3 separate regions of the Homo sapiens genome follow, and all the other regions are linked to region 3. The links are contacts of gene promoters, found by promoter capture Hi-C in blood cells and fetal thymus (Javierre and others, 2016). All regions are on one chromosome and are shown on one strand. Each heading gives the region's core, a stretch centred on a gene start or on the middle of the fragment in contact. The rest is flanking DNA. Distances are from core to core; before and after follow the strand shown.

Region 1 (4,578 bases), core at 87-2,586, 4.5 Mb after region 3:
TTGAAGCCAGGAGTTTGAGACCAGCCTGGCCAACATGGTGAAACGCCATCTTTACTAAAAATACAAAAATTAGCCAGACGTGGTGGCACACGCCTGTGATCCCAGCTACTCGGGAGGCTGAGGCATGAGAATTGCTTGAACCTGGGGGGCAGAGGTTGCAGTGAGCCAAGATCGCACCACTGCACTCCAGCCTCGGTGACAGAACAAGACCTTGTCTCAAAAAACTGCCCAGATTTGATCATTACACATTGTACATATTTGTATAAAAATACCACAGGTACCCCATAAATATGTACAACTATTATACATCTATAAAAATTAAAAATACATTTTTAAAGAATGAATTCCTTTCAGTCAGGAATCATATCTTATTACTGTTAGTAGTGCGCAGGGTCTTACATGTTGTAGTGGCCACTAAAGGTTGTTTACATTAAACCCAAAAACAAGGTTATTAAATGTATAGAACATGGGATGTAATCTATTTCATGGTATCCTGTAAAATATGAAAAGAAGAGTTACTAATACTCGGTTTTGAACTGTTTAAGATTCACAAAAACTGAACCCCATCCATCTTGGAAACTGTGCAGTGTAACTGATAGAAGTTTGCAGAGAAACTGGCTTTGCTATTGCTCAGCTGGCTACATCTTATTGAGCAGTATCTTCAGACAGCAAACAAGCACAAGTTCCAGAGTCAGACAGCCCTGGACTTACATAAAGTTTCAGTCTCAGCTTCCTCATACGTAAAAGGCATTAGGTTGAACCATATCAAACTGCCACTCTTTTTTGGGGCGGGTGTGGCAGGGGAAGTGCTTTGCCTTGTGAAGTTTATAATGAGATAATGAAGGTAAGGCATTTAGCATACTGCTTGGCACATCATATAGGCTCTCAGTAAATGGAAGCTACAGTGTTTGGTTAATATTATTAACAACCGCCAAGGAATCATGATAAAACTAGCCATGTTTTGATATGATAAAAACTAGCCATGCCTGCCCCAGAGCTGCTCCACATAGCATCTCAAACTCTCTTTAATCACAGCTCTAAGTATGTGTTCCCTGGGAAGACAGGATGCAATCTGGAGCACTGTCACACAGGACATGCCCTCTTTAATCTGATAAGCAGCTGTGGGTGAGAACTAGCCTCCAACTAACCGGAGTAACCAGACAGCTAAGACAAGTTCAACTCACCTCTCCTCAGGCATTTCCAAAGCTTTCAGGGAAGGAAAAAAAATAAAACACACAGAGAAAATAGAAAAATAGGAAATTCCGGGACTTCCTGGAACAAAGGAGAGAATCTCAGTGTCTTTTTACCCCAAGGCTTACGTAGAAACTCAGCAGCCACATGGCTTCTGCAATTACTCACATCCAAAAAGTTTTTACTAATTTCTTTCATCAAAGGTAACTGGAATTACAAAATGAAACCTCCAGAACAACGTAACATCATGCACAAAAGCACTGTGGATATGCAGCCAAGCTTGAAAAAGGAGACTTTAGGTCCATTGTGTCAAAGCCTTGAAAACCGGGGCCACTGGAGGAAGGGTGCTCAGGACGGCACAACCACAGTCGCTCCAGTAGGGCCAGCATCTTATCTGCCCATCTAAAGACAAGCTGCATGTGAGTCAGGAGTAAGTCAATGTGACATATACTCACTGACTTCATTCACTTGCCTACAAGATTATACGTCACTTAAAAGTGCTAGAGATTCGACAGAAATAACCTGATAAGGAATGTAGGAACTCTAGTTTGACAAATATCCAGAGGCACCAACACAGGAACCAAACACAGGCGAGACACACATGTGTAATTTTTTTTTTCTTTTGAGACAGATTCTCGTTCTGTCGTCAGGATGGAGTGCAGTGGCGCGATCTCGGCTCACTGCAACCTCAGCCTCCCGCGTTCAAGCGATTCTCCTGCCTCAGCCTCCCGAGTAGCTGGGACTACAGGAGCCCGCCACCACGCCCGGCTAATTTTTGTATTTTTAGTAGAGACGGGGTTTCACCATGTTGGCCAGGATCTCTTGACATCGTGATCCGCTCGCCTCGGCCTCCCAAAGTGCTGGGATTACAGGCGCGAGACACCGCGCCTGGCCACGTATGTGTAATTTCTAAAGGTTTCTCTGCCCTTGGTGTAGGGAAGAATGTTTGAAAAAAAGACCATTGAGAATACTTCAGGTAAGTTTTTTTTTTTTTACACTTACAAAATGCTAAATGATCAGGGGTCAACTATCAAGTGGTACTCTGTAAGGCAACCTTAAAAACTCACTGCTGACCCAGGCTCGGTGGCTCACACTTTTGATCCCAGCACTTTTGGGAGGCTAAGGCGGGCGGATCACTTGAGCCCAGGAATTTGAGACCAGCCTGGGCAACATAGCGAGACCCCCTCTCTACAAAAAATAAGAAAATTAGCTGAGCATCGTGGCCTGCACCTGTGGTTCCAGCTACTTGGGAGGCTGAGGTAGGAGGATCACTTGAGCCCAGGAGGCAGAGGTTGCAGTGAACCAAGATTGCGCCACTGCACTCCAGAACGAGACCCTTTCTCAAAAACCACCATCAACAACAACAAAAAACCCCACTCAATGCTGTCTTGGCAGTTTTCAGTGCTCAATGAGAAAACCTACTCTTAATGGAAAAAAAGTGGGGGAAAGGGGTTCCAGGAACTACAAAGCAAAGTGTGTCTTGGGAAGTTAGCTTTGTTGCACTCCAAATAAAAATTTGGCATTGGGTGGTAGTTATGCATACTCTACGCATCGACAATTCTCTAAGGACTCCAAAGTGCATGTCCTGGAAATTCCAACATATTTGCACTACGTTCCAGGTACACTAGAATGTTTATAGCCATGTTCTGAGTGGCCTCAGTCTGAACAAAATGCCCAACCAGAGTAGAATGGATTCACTGTTCTATTCACACTGGAATACTAGGCAACAATTAAAATTACCTATACATACACAGTACACCAATTTAATACTGATTGAAAACCACAAAACAACACACTGTGATCCACCCGCAAAAGTTCAAAAACAGGCAAAGGAAAACGACATCGCATGCACACATAGATGGTAAAGCTGTAAGGAAATGATCACACTAGTCAGGCTAGGAGACAATCAGGCTCCGAAAGGAGCACAGGGCATGGGTGAGAAACTCCTGGGGTGCCGGTAATGCCCTTTTCGTTTTTATCTGGGTGTTTTATTAATTCTTCTTTAAACGTGTATGTCGTATGCACTTTTCTGCGTATGCTATATCTGTTAAAAATTTATCGGCAGCCCAGCAGACAGATTCGTGCCTCTAAAGAGGTGGAAGCTCCAGAACGATCCGCCTCGCCATTAAGCGAAGGCAACTCCGAACGCTGAGAAACGCAGGCCCGGGGTCGGCCGGTGTCCTTACGGATTGGCGAGCGGGCGCACACCCCTCCTGCATTAAGGAGAGTTCTCAGGGTCACGCTCCGAGCGACCCTAGAGGGAGCGGCGGTGTCCTCGCCGCCGCCAAACCCACCTAGAGCCGCTCTCCGCGTCGGCCCCTCCACCGTCGCCGGCGACTCCGGACAGCCGCGGGGCGATTCTGGGGCTTCCAGACGAGGGAGGGGCCCGGGGGGAAGGAGGCGGCGACTCCCGCCGCCCCGCAGAGCCTCGGCGGCCAGAGCTACCCCAAGAAGGCCAGACCCCGCCGTCCGCGGCTCCGCGGGCCCCGATAGGGTGGGCGTGGCCGCCGCGCGCCGGACGTACCTCTCCACCGCGAAGGAACTACCTCGCCAGTTCCCGGCGACAGAGGACAGATTATTTCCAGGACCGCTCCCGCCACCCCTCCCGGGCAACCCACTAGACGTCCCCTTTCTAATTTGGAGTGCGGGTGCGGGCGCACGCGCACTGCCGAGCTTCCGCGAGGGCGCGACCGGACGGCGGAGGAGGACCCGTCGCCGCAGCCTCCAGGGCGGAGCGCGTGCTCGCCTCGACACGCAGCGAACTGGTGGCGGGGGCGCGCCCGGCGGCAGCGGCGGCGGCGGCGGCGGCGGCGGCGGCGCGGCGGCGCGGGTCGGCCGGGGCGCGAGCGTGCGCAGTGGCTCCTCGGCCTCGGCTCCAGCCAGGGCGGCGGCGCTGGGGAGGAGCGGTGTGGGCGGCCGGGGGCGGGGACGCGGGGCGGCGGGCGTGTCCGAAGTCGCGCGCGGCTGGCGCGCGGTCCCGAGTGAAAGGAGAAGGAGGGGCGCTGGGGGTGACGGTGCGGAGCCGCTGCCAGCGCTGGGCGAGAGTCGGCGGCCGGATCCGAGGAGCAGGCGGGCCTGAGGCCGAGTCAGCTGCGCGGGCCCCCGGATCCCCCGACAGAGCGGCGGCGGTGTCTGGCCAGGCGGTAGGCGCTGCCTGGCCGCGGCGGGGAAGATGTTCAGCGTAGAGTCGCTGGAGCGGGCGGAGCTGTGCGAGAGCCTCCTCACTTGGGTACGTGGGGGCCGCGGGCCGGCGGGAAGACCCCCTCCCCCCGCCACCTACCGGGACCCTCCACGCGCGGCCCGTGGGGCGAGCGCTGCGGGCGACGGTGCCGTCACATCCGGGGCCTGGGGCGGGCGGGGCGAGGAGGCTCGGCCCAGGGTCCGAGA
Region 2 (4,043 bases), core at 571-3,070, 3.8 Mb after region 3:
GATTCAACTGGAGAGATCGAGAGGACAGATAAGTGTTAAAGGTAGTCAGGTGTGGTGGCATGCCTGTAGTCCCATTTACTCAGGAGGCTGAAGCGGGAGTATTGCTTGAGTCCAGGAGTTCAAGGCTGCAATGAGTTATGATCACATCACTGCACTCCAGCCTGGGCAACACAGTGAGACCCTGACTCTAAGCGGGGAAAAAAAAGAAGTAGTAAAGGCATTTTTGATTTAATGCCATGGGAATGCATTGATGGGTTCCAAGCTGCACATAACTGTTTACAGTTTTAAAAGCTCACTTTTGCTGCTGTATAGAAAATGGATTGGAGGGGTGAGAGTAGAAATGGGAGACCAGTATGGCAGCGGTTATCATCTTTCAGGGAAGTGGTGATTGTGGCCTGGACTAAAGTGATGACATTGCATTGGAGAGATTCTGAATTCCTGATGTACATTGAAGATAGAATCCACAGGGTATGCTTCTGATTACATGAGGGGATGAGGGTAATGGAGGACTTGAGGATGACTCATGGGTTTGAGTAGCTGGATGGATGGTGGTATTGTTTACTAAGCTGGGGAAAACAGTTGAGGTTGGAGATACATCGAGAGCTGTCATCATTAAAAGGGTATTACACTCATGAAGCCATCTAGGGAGAGTGCAGAGAAAGAACCGCGGAGCGTCTACTAACAAGCCACAGAATAATGCCATGCCCCTGAGGTGAGGGTGTGGCCTCATGATTGGATATTCTTGTGGCTAATCATCTGGGGAAGGGACCATTTGGTGCAATAATTATGTCCCTCAGGAGACTGGAACCAGGAGGCCAGCCTGAGGCCACCAGGAGAGGGAGGCTGCTGTCTCCTTGTCAGACAAGGTTTGGATTTCAGGAACTCCAGATGGCTTGCCGGGGCTCCTAGGTGAGAGGAGGTACACAGCATCCCTGTCCCCTGGAAGCAGGTGTGCATCCCATAGAGACATCTAAGATGCCCGGATTGGATCACATTTGTGAGCTACATTTTTAGTTGCATGTTACTCTTTCTGCTCACTTCCTTTCTGTTATCTTCAAGTCTTTTTTTTTTTTTTTTTTGAGACTGAGTCTCGTTCTATCACCCAGGCTGGAGTGCAATGGCACGATCTTGGCTCACTGCAAACTCTGCCTTCCAGGTTCAAGCCATTCTCATGCCTCGGCCTCCCGAGTAGCTGGGATTACAGGTGGCCGCCACCATGCCCAGCTAATTTTTGTATTTTTAGTAGAAATGGGTTGGCCAGGCTGGTCTCGAACTCCTGACCTCAAGTGATCCGCCCACCTCTGTCTCCCAAAATGTTGGGATTACAGGCGTGAGCCACTGTGCTCGGCCTATCTTCAAGTCTTTAGACAAGCTTTGGATAAATGTCCATCCTGGTCTCTGCTCTGCTATAGGAAATTAAACAAACAACAAAAAATAGTGTGTCTTAAATGCCATTGAAGAGTTAAAGGGATACTGACCCTCCCAAAACCAGTATGGTGGTGGGAGCTGCAGCCAGCAGTGAGAGGTCCCTAAGGGGAAAGCGGATCTCTTTTTCTAGAGTAGGGCGTCAGGTTCAGTCTCTCCTCTCCACATGGACAGGCTCCTTTCATGGCCAGGCTTAAAGGAGCTGGTTTTTTTTTTTTTTTTTTTTTGAGATGGAGTCTCCCTCTGTGGCCCAGGCTGGAGTGCAGTGGCGTGATCTTGGCTCACTGCAACTTCTGCCTCCTGGGTTCAAGTGATTCTCCTGCCTCAGCCTCCCCGAGTAGCTGGGACTATAGGTGCATGCCACCACACTGGGCTAATTTTTTTTTTTTCTATTTTTAGTAGAGACAAGGTTTCACCATGTTGGCCAGGCTGGTCTCGAACTCTTGACTTCAGGTGATCCACCCGCCTTGGCCTCCCAAAGTGCTGGGATTACAGGTGTGAGCCACGGCGCCCGGCCTGGTTTTGATAAGGGGAGCAGTCTACACTTTAAATCCCCCCTCCACTTGACTGTATGTTCCTTGAAGTAACATAGAGTACCGCATCTTTGTACCCGCAGTGTCCAGGAGGTTGTAAGCACTCCATCACTGTTAGTTTAATAGGTGATTGTTCACTAGACATTGTGAGACACACTGTGGTTTCCCAAAGAGCTTAGAATCCAGATTTGGTCAGCAGATGCACATGTTGATGCATGGCAGAGTGTGCCCGCTCTGTAGGTTACATGAAAGAGCTGGGAAATGCTCTTTGATCACAGAGGAGGGAAACATTACTCCCAGTGTGGGGGCAAGAAGCTTCAAACAGACTTTGTGGAGGAGGAAACATATGGCTGGGCCTTGCGGGCTGGAGCGAATTTCCAAAATAGGATGAGTAAAAGACAAACATGTGCCAGGTAGAGGGCTCCGTGAGAAGGGAGGCATGAGGAGAAGGCATTCCATTGCTTCAGTGCATGACCGGTAGTGAGGTGTGTTGCAAGGAGAGCATACGTGTGAACAGGGAGGAAGTGGCAAAGACGCAGAAATGATGTTGCAGCTCTGAAAAAAATGTCTTTCTGGGTGGGCAAGGCCTCTCTTGTCTCAGACCAAAAATGAAATATAAATAAATAAATAAATAAATGGTTCCCAGTGAATCCTGATAGCTAGGATTAACTTTTTATGGTAGAAAAATTTCTCAGCAGTGAGAGCTGTTAAACATTAGAATGGTTTGTGAGTGGCAGCTTTAGGAAATCTTTCCCTAGAGATTTTTATGCACAAAATAGACTGACTTATCATTTGTCAATGATTTCCTGTGGCCTCTCTTAAAGTCATGGGAAAGTATTACATGAGCTCTCAGATTCTATGTTACTTGATTCAATTCAACAAACACTTGAGTGTCAACTTGGTTCATGCCCCCAGGCATTGCTATATACTGGATTCATGCGCCCTCCCCGCAAGGGGCCTCTCTTCCAGTGATCCCCATCTCAACACATGATGCTTCCATCCATGTCATTGCCCGAATCAGAAACCTACTCTGCCTCACCACTGACATTCCATTAATCCCTAATCCCTATCTTCTCTGGAAGGTGTCCACTTCTCTCTAATCCCTGCCTCATGGCTCCAGGCACTAGCTCTCTCCTAGGGATTACTGCAATTGTCTAAATAACCTCCCAGCCTCCAGGCTCAGCCTGTTACAGTCCATCCTGCACACATAGTCTTTCTGAAATGGAAATCTGAAAGTGTGCCACTCTCCTGCTTCACATTTCTTCAATGGGTTCCTGGGCTTAGAGGTAGGAAGTGTGGAATCTGAGCCATTCTGCTCAGATCTTCCAACGTCCTTGAATCACAGCTTTGCTGTTCGACCTTGGGCAGTTATTTAAGCTGTCTTTGCAGCTTCCTCATCTACGAAAAGGGGATCACAACGGTAATTCATTTTAGAGTAGTTGGGGGGATTAAATGATTTCAGATCCTCCTCTCTTATGTGAACTCTTAAATTTGGAGTGTCCCTGGAATCTGGTTCTCTTATCTCTCCACACTCCTTCCCTCGGTCATCTCAACAGGTCCTACTACTTTAAATATCCATATACTGAAAACACCCAAATTTATATCTCAAGCTCAGCCCACTCTCCTGAACCCTGGACTTATATGTCCAGCTGCCTTCTCAACATCTCCACTTGGATAGTTAATGGAGCTCACAGATATATTGATATACTTTGGATGTTTGTCCCCTCCAAATCTCATGTTGAAATGTGATCCCCAGTTTTGGAGGTGGGTCTAGCAGGTGTCATGGGGTTGGATCCCTCGTGAATGGCTTGGTGCCCTCCCCATGGTAATGAGTGAGTTCTCACTCTGTTGGTTTATGAGAGAGCTGGTTGTTTAAAGGAGCCTGGCACCTCCTCTCTCTCACTCCTGCTTTCACCATGCAACTGCCCGCTCCCCTTTCACCTTCTGCCATGAGTAAAAGCTTCCTGAGGCCTCACCAGAAGCTGAGCAGATGCTGGTGCCACGCTTGCATAGCCTACAGAACCATGAGCCAAATAAACCTCTTTTTTTTTAATATTATAAATTACCGAGTCTCAGGTATTCCTT
Region 3 (4,016 bases), core at 1,042-3,541:
AGTTACTGTAGTTTCCTGAGAGTCAACTGAAGTTTCAATCAAAAAACGAACAAACAAAACAACAACAAAAAAACCCTGGCATCTCAATGAGACTCTAAGAACTGCATGCCTACTTCACAGATCATTGCACTGTGCTGAACTGGCATCTGGAGATTGTATTGAGCCAGCTACATGAAGGCAAAGAGAAGAGATGGGGAAAAGAGAGTTTATTTAAAAAAGAAAATACTATTCTTAACACACTCATCACTTAACACGCTCATCACCTATAAGCAAGAGCTATCAGAAATACTATTTAAAAATACATACATTTCTAATTTTTCAACATTCAAAATACAGCAAGCCGATAATCTACCACAAGCAGAGCTTCCTACCCCTTTCACCCGGACACAGCGCTTTGCCAAGAGCACAGGCCCAAGTAAAATAACCGATGCAATTTCCTTGTTTACTTAAAGAATTGCAGAAAACATGTTGACTGCTTCTGAGGCTTCCGAAACAAACGAATTTTCAATACGTAAAAGACTTCACGATCATGTTTGATATGTAAGCGTAGTAATGATTCCTTCAGCTAGTAAAAATCTAGTTTTAAATTGATTAAATGGGTTAAATTTACACTGCAGCTCATTAGCATACCTTGTTTGCAACCAGAAGGAAGAGGGTAAAGAGAGGGAGAAAAGCATCAAAAAGGTAGTGATGGAAAACATCACTACCTCCTTTGGCGGTTATGAATAATTTAAAATGACCCAAGACGTAAGGGGAAAAGAGTTCATGAATAGAAAGAAAGGGGGCTAACAGTCTGAATTGGCCCCTTCCAGATTCATACTGATGTCGGAGAGGAAAAGGAATTTATTTACACTGCAGTGCCTTGGCAGCAAACATGGCTGCCCCTGCCCCCTTTAAATCGAAATAATCTTCACTCCCTCCCCAAAACCATCAAATTATGGCCATGTCTCTCCCTGCCTCCCTTCCATAACACAAACACATCGCCTTCTCCCTCAAAACAGTAAAACCCACACCTCCCCATTTCACAACAATCACAATCCCATAACCACCAGCTTCTCTATTCTCTAGCCTTGAAAGAAAGACACAGAATACACACAAATACAGGAACAAAAGGCCTCCCTTCCTAACACTTTAACGACCTCCATCCCCTTCTCTTCCTCCCACTCTGACGCTAAGTCGATCGTTCTCATCCCTGTCATCATTCAGTTAATTTCCTTCCCTAGCCCAATCCTGTCTTCCAGTTTCCTGCGTCTATTTCCCATTCTCCTATTGCAGCCTGCCTCATCCCCTTTCCTAATCCACCTTTTCCTTCACTTCCATTCCTCATTTCTCCCTTCATTCCCATAAAATGCCCCATTTCTCCAGCAAATTTATCCCCTTCTCCCAGACTCTTCTGGTTCCTACACTCCATCCCCAAATCTCCCTATTTATCAGTCCACCCAGGTCTGTAATCTCCATGCAACTCTTCTCCCCTTTCCCTGCCCCTCCCCGATCCATCCTTATCCCCGCCCCCATCCCACTTTCCCAATTCCCAGCTCAGCGCCACTCCGACTCCCATCCCACTCCCCACCTCCCCTGGCCCACCCCCCAATTCCCTCCACACCCCCCACCTTGCCATCTGCTCCTCCGTCAGGACTCCCCTCGAGCCCTTTCAGGCCACCCGCTTCCCCTTCCATTCCTCCTGGGGTCTGGCGCTCCATCCCTAGGTCGCCCCCTCCCCGTCGTTCCCTCCTCAGCCCTTCCTAGCACTACACACGCGCGCGCGCGCACACACACACACACACACACACACACATACACACACGCACACGCACTTTACCTTCAGTTTGTTCCATTCTAACCCCCCGGCCGTGTCAGTGCGATCACAGGAGAGACACGGAGGCCCGGAGTGGGGCTGGGGTGCGGGCAGCCGCTGGGGCCGCGCGAGGAGGAGGCGGAACCGAGCTAGGCCGCATGAAATCCCCGGGCTAGATTTTCCCCGCGCCGGACGCCTCTGCCATGGCGGCCGGCACTGAGGAGGGCCACGGCCGGGCCGGGCCGGGCGTGCTGCGGGAAGAGGAAGGCTCGGGAGGTGGGATGGGAAGGGGAGGCCGAGGGACGGGGGTCGCCGCGCCGCCGCTGCTGCCAGAGAGGAGCCTGCGGCTGGCAGCCCGGCCTGGGTAGCACGGTCCTCGGCGCTCGGCTCGGAATTCGCACGCCTCTCCGCGGCGACCTGTGCACAGCCCCCTCGGCCTCCGCCTCCGTGCTGGCCGCCGCCGCCGCCTCTCCCGCCGCCGCCGCGCACAAAGCCCCCCCACCCCGACTCTCGGGGCGCCGCCGCCGCCAAATCCTCAGCCCCTCATTGGCCGCGGGCCGCGGCGCCTGCCGGGAAATGCAGTCCCTGGTTCGGGACGCTGGGGCTCCGGAGGAAGCGGCGAGTCGGCGGGGCGGAGGGGGCGGGAGCGCGAACCAGGAACGCCCGCGGCAGCTAGCGTCTGGACGACTAGGGAGACCGGGCGAGAGGGCCGAGGAACGAGGGACGGGGAGGGACTGTACGTGGGAGAGTGACACACAAAACACCCCGGGAAGCCGGAGGAGGCGTGGAAAGGTGGGGCCCGGGAGGTAAAACTGGGATCGGCGCGTTCAGTGAGGCTGATTAAAGAACAACGCGCAACCAGCGCCATACGGCGCTCCTCAGGGTGACTCGGCTCTCTAGCTCTTAAGGGTTAGAAGCGACCCTCGCACGGTCCCCGGTGGGTCACCGCGCGAGGGCGGGGCAGTCCAGGCGACCCCTCGGCCGTCTCCCGTCCTACGGCTGTCAGGGAAGGGCTCCGGTTCCGGTAGGGTCTGCATTTGGAAAGCCGGGGGCGATGCAAGACCGCCTTGGCGTCGTCTCCCTCTCAGCCCCGGCTGAGCTGTCGGATGGTCCCCCTCCCCCGGTTGCAAGCAGTAGGAGACCCGGCCGGCGGCGCCGGCTCGCCGAGGGAGCGCCTCGACCTCCCCGGCAGGCGCCGGCCCCGCGCGCCTCTTCCTGCTCTGCTGCGGCCCGGAGGCTTGTGGGTAACCGGGAGGACGACGTCAGCGCCCGCCGCATCCCCGGGTGCCCCCCAGCCGCGGGGGACCGCGACGGCTCCGTGACCGTCACGTGCCGGAGGCCGCGGCTGCTCGCGGCCAGACCTTCGCATCGAGGGACGTGAGGGACATTTGTCCTAGAGGGCCCAAGATAAGAACGAGAGGAAGAACCGGGAGGCAACTCTCCGTCATCCTCTAGCCCCCCGCATCCTAGGAAACGTATGGAAAACAATGGAAGGTTAAGTGTGTGCACAGTGATCTGGCCCTGCAGGAGTGTGCCGACCAGGTGATATTTCCTGGGGCCTGGTGATAAGGATTTGGAAGGTTACAGCACAGAGACGTGAACGTAAAAAGGAAACAGAGGCAGCAAGCAAATGAGGAAACCGATACTCTGTTCTGAGAATAAAGCCATTTTACCGCTAGACGTCATACTCTGTAGACGTTATAGTGCTGGATGTCTTTGGTACTATTACAAGAAATTAGATATCTCTATCTTTAAATATCACTTAAGGAAATTAAATGATTTCTACAGATCAGTTATTTAAAAGGGCACTAATTATGAACTATTTTTTTTAAACGTAACCCGGTTAATACTAGATACTGAGAATTATCAGTATTGGCTGGGCGCAGTGGCTCACGCCTGTAATCCCAGCACTTTGGGAGGCCGAGGCAGGCGGATCACGAGGTCCGGAAATCGAGACCATCCTGGCTAAGACGGTGAAACCCCGTCTCTACTAAAAATACAAAAAATTAGCCGGGCGTGGTGGGGGGCGCCTGTAGTCCCAGCTACTCAGGAGGCTGAGGCAGGAGAATGGCGTGAACCCGGGAAGCGGAGCTTGCAGTGAGCCGAGATCGCGCCACTGCACTCCAGCCTGGGCGACACAGAGAGGCTATGTCTCAAAAAAAAAAAAAAAAATCTCATTACTATTAATCATTAAATATTTTTAAACGTATGCTTTAAGTAG

Evidence for each region. The method cuts DNA at HindIII sites, captures the fragments that hold promoters and counts their contacts. A CHiCAGO score of 5 or more calls a contact.
Region 1: a fragment that was not itself captured here is called in contact with the fragment with the promoter of NSD3 in region 3 in 1 of 17 cell types (naive CD8 T cells); the score reaches 5.8 in naive CD8 T cells.
Region 2: a fragment that was not itself captured here is called in contact with the fragment with the promoter of NSD3 in region 3 in 1 of 17 cell types (naive CD8 T cells); the score reaches 5.4 in naive CD8 T cells.

Annotation. Positions count from the first base shown.
Region 1 is chr8:42,892,769-42,897,346 of GRCh38, forward strand. It overlaps RNF170 (ring finger protein 170), which reads right to left and starts at 3,837. Exons shown (of 7, transcript NM_030954.4): 1 at 3,716-3,837. HOOK3 (hook microtubule tethering protein 3) reads left to right here and starts at 4,210. Exons shown (of 22, transcript NM_032410.4): 1 at 4,210-4,420. The coding sequence starts at 4,364. It overlaps MIR4469 (microRNA 4469), which reads right to left and starts at 3,507; the gene lies at 3,429-3,507. RefSeq lists an enhancer at 2,954-3,515 and silencers at 3,422-3,633, 3,429-3,788, 3,969-4,578. The HindIII fragment of the contact is 264 bases long and covers 1,205-1,468 here.
Region 2 is chr8:42,145,659-42,149,701 of GRCh38, forward strand. No RefSeq gene overlaps it. Among named protein-coding and RNA genes, the nearest start is that of AP3M2, 5.4 kb to the right of the region's middle. The HindIII fragment of the contact is 901 bases long and covers 1,371-2,271 here.
Region 3 is chr8:38,379,980-38,383,995 of GRCh38, forward strand. It overlaps NSD3 (nuclear receptor binding SET domain protein 3), which reads right to left and starts at 2,292. Exons shown (of 24, transcript NM_023034.2): 1 at 1,820-2,292. It also overlaps a transcript of LETM2 not described here. RefSeq lists enhancers at 815-1,349, 1,640-2,430 and silencers at 2,079-2,478, 2,509-2,658, 2,849-3,198. The HindIII fragment of the contact is 5,398 bases long and covers 1-4,016 here.